Linked DNA regions of Homo sapiens: regions 1 and 3 are each linked to region 2. The links are contacts of gene promoters, found by promoter capture Hi-C in human tissues and cell types (Jung and others, 2019). All regions are on one chromosome and are shown on one strand. Each heading gives the region's core, a stretch centred on a gene start or on the middle of the fragment in contact. The rest is flanking DNA. Distances are from core to core; before and after follow the strand shown.

Region 1 (3,123 bases), core at 23-2,522, 330 kb before region 2:
CAGCCTAGGACGTTTCCTTCCATTCCTTTCCCTTCCTTCTCTTGCATTTCCCCCCTTTTCCTTTCTCTCTCATCCTTTCTCTCATGTCTTTTTCGGTACTTTTTTCACTATGCTCTCCTTTGGCCTTGCACCTGGTCCTGTCTCCGCCTGCCTTTTCTCCTTTGCATTTCCTCCTTTCCGTCCCCCTGTGCCCCTCTCGCTCTCTCTTGCCAATTCCCATCTTCTATGCCTTTCCCTGCAACAGGCCAGTGAAGCTGTTGCCACGGAAACAGAAGCCCAGCAGAAGCTCTGTTCTGCTTTCCGGATGCTTCTAACGATGATGACGCAGATAATATTGATTTCTAGAATCAGCTAAGCCCTGGCCTGTGGCCTCTGGAGTCCCTTCATTTTCCAAAGGCCAAGCTGATGCCACAGCTCATCATTCTGTTCAGTAGATGGTCATTTTTGATTTCAAAATTGAAACTTCAAAATTTTGAGTAATCTACTTCCCTGTGGCTCCAGAAGACTGGGTGCAACCATGTGAAAAAGACTTACTTGAATTTACTTACATTAACTGAGGGAAAAATACCAGATGAGGAGGGTACGGGTGCTGCAGGTTCCAGGAATAACTTAAGTTACACATGGGAGAGGGTTAGATGCATTTGTTGAATTACTGGGCTGAATGACTGCTTTTAAAGGACTTGGGGGAAAGAGAAGTACAGTTGAGGCCTTAAAAAAGATACTTAATTCAATGAATGTTCAGTGAGGACTGGCCATTTCTGAGACATGGGGTCAGGTGCTGTGGGGCACCAGGAGTGTGAAAAGCACATTTCCTCCTCTGGAGGAGTGGCTTTTTAAGTGACAGAGCTGGGGCATGTGTGTCCTGTACCGCAGTGACATTCCTTGATACTTGTCATGGTGATCCAGTGAGTGCAGCTGTTGTCAGTTCTGCCGTACAACCCACATGGCTGCACATTAACTGGGCTTTGTGGTCCCCTCGGAGGGCTGTTGGCGCCTGGTCCTCAGTGGAGCTGGTTTATGATGGTGGCAGCCTTGCTGCACCTTTCCGGGTTTGACTCAGGCCCAGCTTGTTGGCATTAGCTAGGATTTGGAGTTTTGCCATTCAGCCAGCACCAGCTAATAGCCCAGCAAGGAAGAGTTAGTTCATGGATTATATTTAAGTTAGTACTTATTCCCAAAGGTAACTTTGTTTAATAAAAACCTTAAGCCCTTATTACTGTGCTTCTGGGTATCCTGGCTCCAGTGTGTAAAAATAAGACTTATAAAATTCAAACATTATTTGTGAAAATGCAAAAACATTTTCATTAATACAGGGCATGATAAAAAGCAAAAGGCACTTTCCATCTGTGGCTAAGTGGTCTTTCTGCACTGGGGTCTTTTTGTTTTCATAATCACTTTGCGCTTATTTAAATATTGCCCTTTCAGTCGTGAATTTTAAAGGGAGGAAGCTTTGGTGTGTGAATAACTTTACAACTACCCACAGTATTTCCATCCAGTTGCTATGACTTAAGTTGATAATGGACCCCACACAGTAGTCACTAATGGATGATAATCTAGGAGTGTTTTTGTTATTGTTTTTATTTTAGAAGAAAGGTTTGAAATTAGCATAGTAAATCTCTGTGGGATCTTTGCAAATAAAAGAATGTTCACGTTAAAAACAATTTTCAAGAAAGATGTATGGTAATGAATAAAACATCAGTGAGTGAAAATAAGCGTGTTTAATTATTCAAGTAGAAGTAGTAATTTAAACTAATTATTGCTTGCGGATTTCATAATTCAGTTTTTGTCTCACAATAATATTTCCTCTGGGCCTCCGGGGCGCGTCGGCGGCTGCTCGCTGTTCCTGGGGCGGGAGAGACCTCCCCCTCCCCGTGGCTGCAGCCTCTGCCCCACCGAGCCAGAGCCAGAGAGGCCCAGTTTCTGCTTCTGCCGGCCTCCTCGTGGTCTCAGTCCACATCTATCCCCCTTGCACTGCCTCATTAGGCATTTCCTTGCTTATCACCTTCTCTGGTTGATTCGGGCATCTCAGACCAGTTCTGTCCATTGAGGTCTGAGTGTCGTGGAGGCTGGTCCCCTGCCTCCTCCCCGGTGTCTTAGACTTCCTTGGCAGGGGTGGCCCTGAGCACCCTGCCCATGTCCCCAGGAGGCAAGTCCTTGCCGTTCAGGGCTGCCTCAGGTTGGATCCCCTCCAGGAGGCTCCCCTGCCTGGGGATTGATCACTTCTTCCTCCCCAGTGCTTTGTACCAGCAGGTTCTGGTGGTAGTAAGAGAATTACAGAGAGAATTTGTTGGTTGACATTTTTCTTTTTTGGGCTTCTTTTTACTTTGTTTCTGATCCTAAAGGAAGAAAAACATATTCATACAGAGGAATGGAAAAGTACCAGAGAGCCTGAGAGGCAGTGGGGAGGACACTTCATCCCCTGGAACTTGCACCTGGCTTCTCTGCTCCTGGGTGGCTCTGCACGTGTCTTAGTTCTGCTCATTCTGTGTATGCAGGCACTTGCCATTTTCTCTGTGGAATTTGAGGGCTTGGATGTGATTTTTAGCATGGACACTTTGGAGGGGCTCAGTTACATTCTCCTTGGTGCACCTCCTGGGGTACAACTGGCATTAGCAGGTGCTGATGAAGGAGTAGGAAGTGCTGCAAAGCACTTTTGCTCAATCGTGCGAGGCTTTTAAAACCCAGTTATTACTGCTACTCCCATGAATGCCCATAATGGCACAGGAGGTTTTCTGAACCTTTCTTTATTGCACAAATGCTCCTGGAACAGATCTTGACAATTCAGGTGAATTATTATTCTACCCCTCAGAAGGTAAAGGGAAAGCTTTCTGTTTGTAACTTTTTCTTCCCAAGTGTCCTCTGTCAAAAGGTAGTGACATCTTCTCTCCTGATATGTGACGTCCATTATTACCTCGGTATAATCATAAAGCTCACACCCAAAAGCTTTCCATCCAGCACGTCAGAGGGACAATCTTTATTTAAGACACACTCCCCCACTTTTCTTTGTTATTGCTTTCTCCTAAAAAAAAAAAACAAAACCAAAAAATCAAAAAATTCCCTTGGCTTTAAAGGCATGATCTGGGCTAGGAGTGACTCGTTCTTTTGCAAGGTTATTGTCATAGG
Region 2 (2,927 bases), core at 125-2,624:
AAATTAAGTATCCTAAACGACCCACCCAAAGATTGGGACGCCTGGGACCCTTCCCCCAGGAGGTGAAATATCTTTAATCCCCTCCTACCCCTCTCCCTCCCTATCTTTCTGAGCCTCCCCCATCCAGACTGGGTGCAGGGGTGCAGAGCTTTCCTCTCCAGCAGGGCTCTAAGCCTAAGCCGGGGGCAATGGGGAGGAGGGGTGTCTGAGGAGCACTCCCTCTCCCTGGGAGCTCTGCAGAGGAAGAGGGTCTCTGGCAATCAGCATCCTCTACCTCCACCTCTCCAGCGGGCGACCCCTCAGAGAAGGTCTCCCAGTGAGTCTGGAATACGTGCCGAGTGCCTGGAGTGCTATTGTGTGTATGTGAGAGCACATTGGTGAGGCTGCCCATGCATGCCACTGTGGACAAAGACAGATGCGATCGTGTGTGTGTGGGGACTGCGTATATGTTTTTGTCAGTGTGTGTGACCACGAGTCAGCTGGGTATGTGTGCTTGTGGGTATCAGGTGCATGGCTGTGCGTACATGTGTGCGTAAGAGTCGGTGCATTTGTGTTTCAGCGCGGCTAAGGCCCTGACTGAGATGCTGTGTGTGCGGGGGTGGGTGTGACTGAATGCGGGCACGGGTGTCCGTCTGTTTATACGTGTGTTTGCGTGTTTGGGTGTGCAGGTGGCTCTGCGTAAGCGTCTGTGTGCAGGGGGTCGGCACATGGGGGAGGATGCCCATGGTTGGGTAACCGCAGGTCCGCTTGACCCTCTGCCACCTAGGACTGTGTCTATACGGCGTCTGGGCTACAGTGTGTTTGAGTTGCCGTGTGCGTTTCCGTTGCGGGGTGTGGGTTGCCACGGGGCAACTGCATTTTTCTGCGTCTTCATGGCCAGGGGTACAGGGGGCGTCGGGCTTTTCCTGGGGGTTTTTCTGTGTGCGTGTGTAATTATGTGCTTAGTTCACATCTTCATAGTGCGCCTTTGTGTTTTCCTGGGTATCTAACCATTGCACGTGTGCCCGGGACTTCAGCGATAAGTGTTTCGGTGTTCCTGCGTGCGGATTTGTGCTCTCCGGGGAGGTCTGCGGCCCAGGTTCGATTCCTGCGACTTGTCCTAGGCAGGCCTGTATGTGCGCGGCGGCCGCGTGCTGTACAGTGTGAGGGAACGTGTACCAAACGCTCGCGGGATACCTGTGCCCGTCTAGCCAAGAGTGCACCCGTGTGCGCGAGCGGGCTTCTGGGACGCCGCCGTGGTCGGGGGCGGCCCTGCGAGGGGAGGGGGTCACAGGGACTGGCCGGCGCCGGCCCCGTGCGCACGGAGGCGGGGGCGGGGGGCGGGGGCCGCGAGGGGGGAGGCGGTACGAAAAGGGCGGCGCGCGCGGCGGCGGCGGCAGCTCCCCGGCAGCGGCGGTGGAGAGCGCAGCGCGCAGCCCGGTGCAGCCCTGGCTTTCCCCTCGCTGCGCGCCCGCGCCCCCTTTCGCGTCCGCAACCAGAAGCCCAGTGCGGCGCCAGGAGCCGGACCCGCGCCCGCACCGCTCCCGGGACCGCGACCCCGGCCGCCCAGAGATGACCGCGACCGAAGCCCTCCTGCGCGTCCTCTTGCTCCTGCTGGCTTTCGGCCACAGCACCTATGGTGAGTTCCCCGGCGGCCCGGCTCGCGCCCCCTCTGGGGAAGCCTGCGACTCCCCGCCGGCCGCCCGGTGCCCCGCACGCCCCGTCTCGTGAGCCCCAACTCCGCCCGTCCCGCCTAGCCCTAAGCCCCGCGCTGTGCCTGTCTCGCCCTACCCACCACGCTCGCATGCCAAGGCCCGTCCCAGGGGTCCCAGGGCGCAGGGGATGTGTGAGACCCCCAGCCCCTTCCCGCCCTGCAGAAGTGGCGCCAGAGGGGTGTCGGTGCGCTGAGCAAGGAGGTATGGAAAAATGGGGTGCTGTTGTGGAGTCTTCTATGAAAATACTCTGGGGTGCAACTTTGGGGTGTCCCTGTGTGAGCGTTCTGGAACAGGTCTCGGGGCGGGAGTGGGGGACGACTTTGCCGTCTTAGCCCCCAATTCCCAGAGAAGCCCAGCCTGAGCCCTTCCTGCGTGGCGCGTTTCTGTAGGTGAGGGGCTGCGACACTTCTGTCTGCAGCGGCCATCTGTCTCTGACAGCGAGAGAGTTGCCCCCTTCCTGCAGCGCCCCCCCACTCATTGCACCAGTGGTTGTAAGGGGGCTGTCTAGAAAGCTGGGGAGCTGGTTGAGTAAATGCACACAGTAGGTGCCTGTTAAAGTGTCAGAATCTCTAAGCAGTGTTGTTGCAACCTCAGCCCGCTAAGCAAAACCCTGTGTCGTCATCGTTTTTTTAATGCGAAGAGTCTGGGGTAGGGGAAAGAGGGAAGATTTGACCTGGGTGCCCGGCTTAATAGGGATGAACCTTAAAAAGAATGCAGACGCCTTACTGGGGCGCCCACCAGGTGAACCTGTCTGGGCTTTCCCGGAGTTGAACACCTCAAAATCTGCTCCTCTTTTCAGCTCAGGTTGCAAAAGTGACGGTCAGGCTGCATGCCCAGGGCTCAACATATTTCCCTCCACGGTCCCCGTCCCCGCTGTTAGGAGGACTTGAGGTGTCGTATTTGCTTTTGGGAGTCCGAGGAGAAGGTGTTTCTCCTGCTCCTAAGAACGAGGGAGAGTGTACTGTGGTCATTTCATTGCTGGGAACGTGGCAGAGATGTTTTTCCTGAGTGCACTGAGCCCCATCCATGCTCGGATAGGAAGTGCCTACTGTGTGCCAGGCTGGTAGGACCCAAGAGGGCTGTTGGTGCCCTCGAGGGCAGTGGTGGGCTGTGTGGGCGAAGACAGCCTTTGCCTTGGCCTGGGGCCTGGTGGGGTGAATTGTATAACCTTTCTTGTACCTCAGGGGCTGAATGCTTCCCGGCCTGCAACCCCCAAAATGGATTCTGCGAGGA
Region 3 (2,700 bases), core at 167-2,666, 310 kb before region 2:
GATCTCATGCCTTCTGCTAGTATGTATGAAGCTGTGGCAGGCTAACTTGGTAGTTTGCTAGCAGAGTACTGTCTCAAAGCCCACACAGTTCATGACAGTGCCTCTGGTTGCCAAGCACGATTGGCACAGCTGGTGTCCTCCCTGCTCTGCCGCTGTCCTTCTTTTCTTCTGCATCTCTGTCAGTGCACTGCCACCTGAATCTTTACTGAGCACCTAGTAGGTGTCAGGTCCAGGGGCAGCAGATAGAGTGGGAAGCCAGATATGGTTCTAGCCCTCACAGAGCACGTGTCATTCAGCCTCTGCTGTCCAATCAGCCACTGAGTTGTGACTTCTCTACTTAGAGGTAGTTCTTTATCAAATTCATCTCATTCCTCGCTGCCGTTTGGTTTCTCCCTGTGAAGGGTATTCATTTTCATGGTTGTTTTAAGAGTAAGAGGCAGTACAAGGGAAGTGCCTGGTATAGTTCCTGGTAATCGTAGATGCCCAAATTGTGACTACTGCTGTTGTAATTTCTATTATTACGTATTCTCAACTCTGATTGTCATTCCTTGATGTAAAAACTTTGCTGTTTGCCCTCATACTACAATACAGGTTGCAGCCCAAACAGTACGGGATGCAAACCAACCCATGTCACCGGCCCATTCACCCTGCCCCGATTTCTGTTCCTATCACAAACTGCCTGCTGTGTGCCTTGAATTCTTTCCAGCTCTTTCCCAAACATGACACACCCTTTTAGGCCTTTTCCCTTTCCTTCCTTCTTTTCAGGCAAAGTCTTCCTTATCCCCCTGGACTTGGCTCAAGGGTCCCCTTCTCTCTGTACCCATTCCTTGAGGTTGCCTTTCTCCCTTGTCTCCAGACTGCATAAATGGCAGTGTGGCCTGTGTTGCTGTAGCACCATGTGCACCTGGGCTGTGCCCCGGCAGTGTTCTGTCTTTGGGCTCACTGGGGAGGGAGCACTGGACCATCGTCCCCAGATGCCCAGGGAGAAGCTTGGTGCTCGTTACTGACTGTAGGGTACTTTTCTGTAGCAGGCACTTGGGGCTCACTTATGGGACCCAGTAACTTCACAGTCATGAGGTACTTGATTTGAACTGAGGAGAAAATGTGTCAATACCTTTCCCAGGGAGAGTCACCCTCACAAACCTTGGTCTGGAAGGCCCATCTTAGCCCAGGGGTGAGATCTTGCGTGGATGATTCAGAAGTCACAGTATTCCTGAAAACTAGTGACTCAACAGAATTATATGGCTTTGGGAGAAAGAGTCCCTCCAGGGGCAATCCAACTACCACAGGCCAGGGGCCAAGCTTTGGTGAGCCGAGCCTGGGCCCTGCCCCTCCCTTCTCTATGGGCCTAGGGTTGCTGTGCTGTGTGTGGCATGGCCAGAGTCCTCCGCTCATCTCCTCACCATCTGTTACTTGTGCGTGTCTCCTGTGCCAGGCCTGGTGCTGACACTAGCTCAGGGAGAGAGGCAGCCGTACCTGGAGGAGCTGCTTAGTAGGACACTTGGCACATGCCACATGCTTTGCAGACTTCTCAGTCTCCCAGCCACTCAGGGATTTGTGGGACTGAGTATCTCAGATCCAAGGTGGTCAGGCGAGGGTGCAGGGAGATGGAGCCATGTGTGGGGCCAGGCTCTTTCCCATGACCTAGGTGCCCCTTCCAACCCCCACCATCCTGTTAAGACCCTGAGCAGCCAGGCTGGTTGCTCCAGCCACTCTTCCCTGGTGGCTCCCCTTTCCAGTTCTGAGGCTACTGCGAGTCACCTTCCTCCTCCAGGGAGGGAGAGAGCTGCCTGAGCATTACCTCTGCTTGCGGATGGGGGTGCTAGAGACCGAGCCTTTTCCTTGTTGTCTCTGCCAGTGAGGCTCTGGAGAGTGAGTCAGGAATACAGCTGCACAAATCGCCCTTACTTTGATACTGTGTGATTGGTCTGCAAGACAGACACAGGGCTGACATCGCATTTTCTGCCTGACTTCTTCCTGGCTGCAGTGACCCTGAGCTGTTCCTAGCCTTCCATCGTTTCTGTTGTGGACAGGCGTGTCATGCTGCCCCTGTTCCTCCTGCCCTGGCCTGGCTACTTAGGCTCTTGTGCATGTGCTCATAGGTTCTCATGAAGGTTGTTCTTAGTTTGCTTATGTCTTTTTTTTTTTTTTGAGACGGAGGCTCGCTCTGTCGCCCAGGCTGGAGTGCAGTGGCACCATCTCAGCTCACTGTAACCTCTGCCTCCTGGGTTCAAGCAATTCTCTTGCTTCAGCCTCCTGAGTAGCTGGGATTACAGGCACCAACCACCACGCCTGGCTAATTTTTGTACTTTTAGTAGAGATGTGGTTTCACCATGTTGATCAGACTGGTTTCGAACTCCTGACCTCGTGATCCACACCCCCCACTCAGCCTCCCAAAGTGCTGGGATAACAGGCATGAGCCACTGTGCCCTGCCTTCTTACGTCTTATATCCACACTGCCTGTGATTTTGTACATGATACACACAATGTCACCTAGCACTGGCCTTTCTGACTTTCATGCAACTATTGAAAGTGAAAAATTTGGCCGGGCACCGTGGCTCATGCCTGTAATCCCAGCACTTTGGGAGGCCGAGGTGGGCGGATCACGAGGTCAAGAGATGGAGACCATCCTGGCCAACACGGTGAAACCCCTTCTCTACTAAAAATACAAAAATTAGCTGGGCGTGGTGGTGCACACCT

Evidence for each region. The method cuts DNA at HindIII sites, captures the fragments that hold promoters and counts their contacts. A contact is called where the count stands out against the background at its distance.
Region 1: a fragment that was not itself captured here is called in contact with the fragment with the promoter of DLK1 in region 2 in 3 of the 25 tissues and cell types used here (bladder, neural progenitor cells and thymus).
Region 3: a contact is called between a fragment that was not itself captured here and the fragment with the promoter of DLK1 in region 2, in 2 of the 25 tissues and cell types used here (IMR-90 fibroblasts and neural progenitor cells).

Annotation. Positions count from the first base shown.
Region 1 is chr14:100,399,346-100,402,468 of GRCh38, forward strand. The region is part of intron 2 of WDR25 (WD repeat domain 25); the gene reads left to right. Among named protein-coding and RNA genes, the nearest start is that of WDR25, 24 kb to the left of the region's middle. The HindIII fragment of the contact is 3,221 bases long and covers 1-2,883 here.
Region 2 is chr14:100,725,518-100,728,444 of GRCh38, forward strand. It overlaps DLK1 (delta like non-canonical Notch ligand 1), which reads left to right and starts at 1,375. Exons shown (of 5, transcript NM_003836.7): 1 at 1,375-1,618; 2 at 2,879-2,927. The coding sequence starts at 1,552. The HindIII fragment of the contact is 15,317 bases long and covers 1-2,927 here.
Region 3 is chr14:100,415,809-100,418,508 of GRCh38, forward strand. The region is part of intron 2 of WDR25 (WD repeat domain 25); the gene reads left to right. Among named protein-coding and RNA genes, the nearest start is that of WDR25, 41 kb to the left of the region's middle. The HindIII fragment of the contact is 4,140 bases long and covers 1-2,700 here.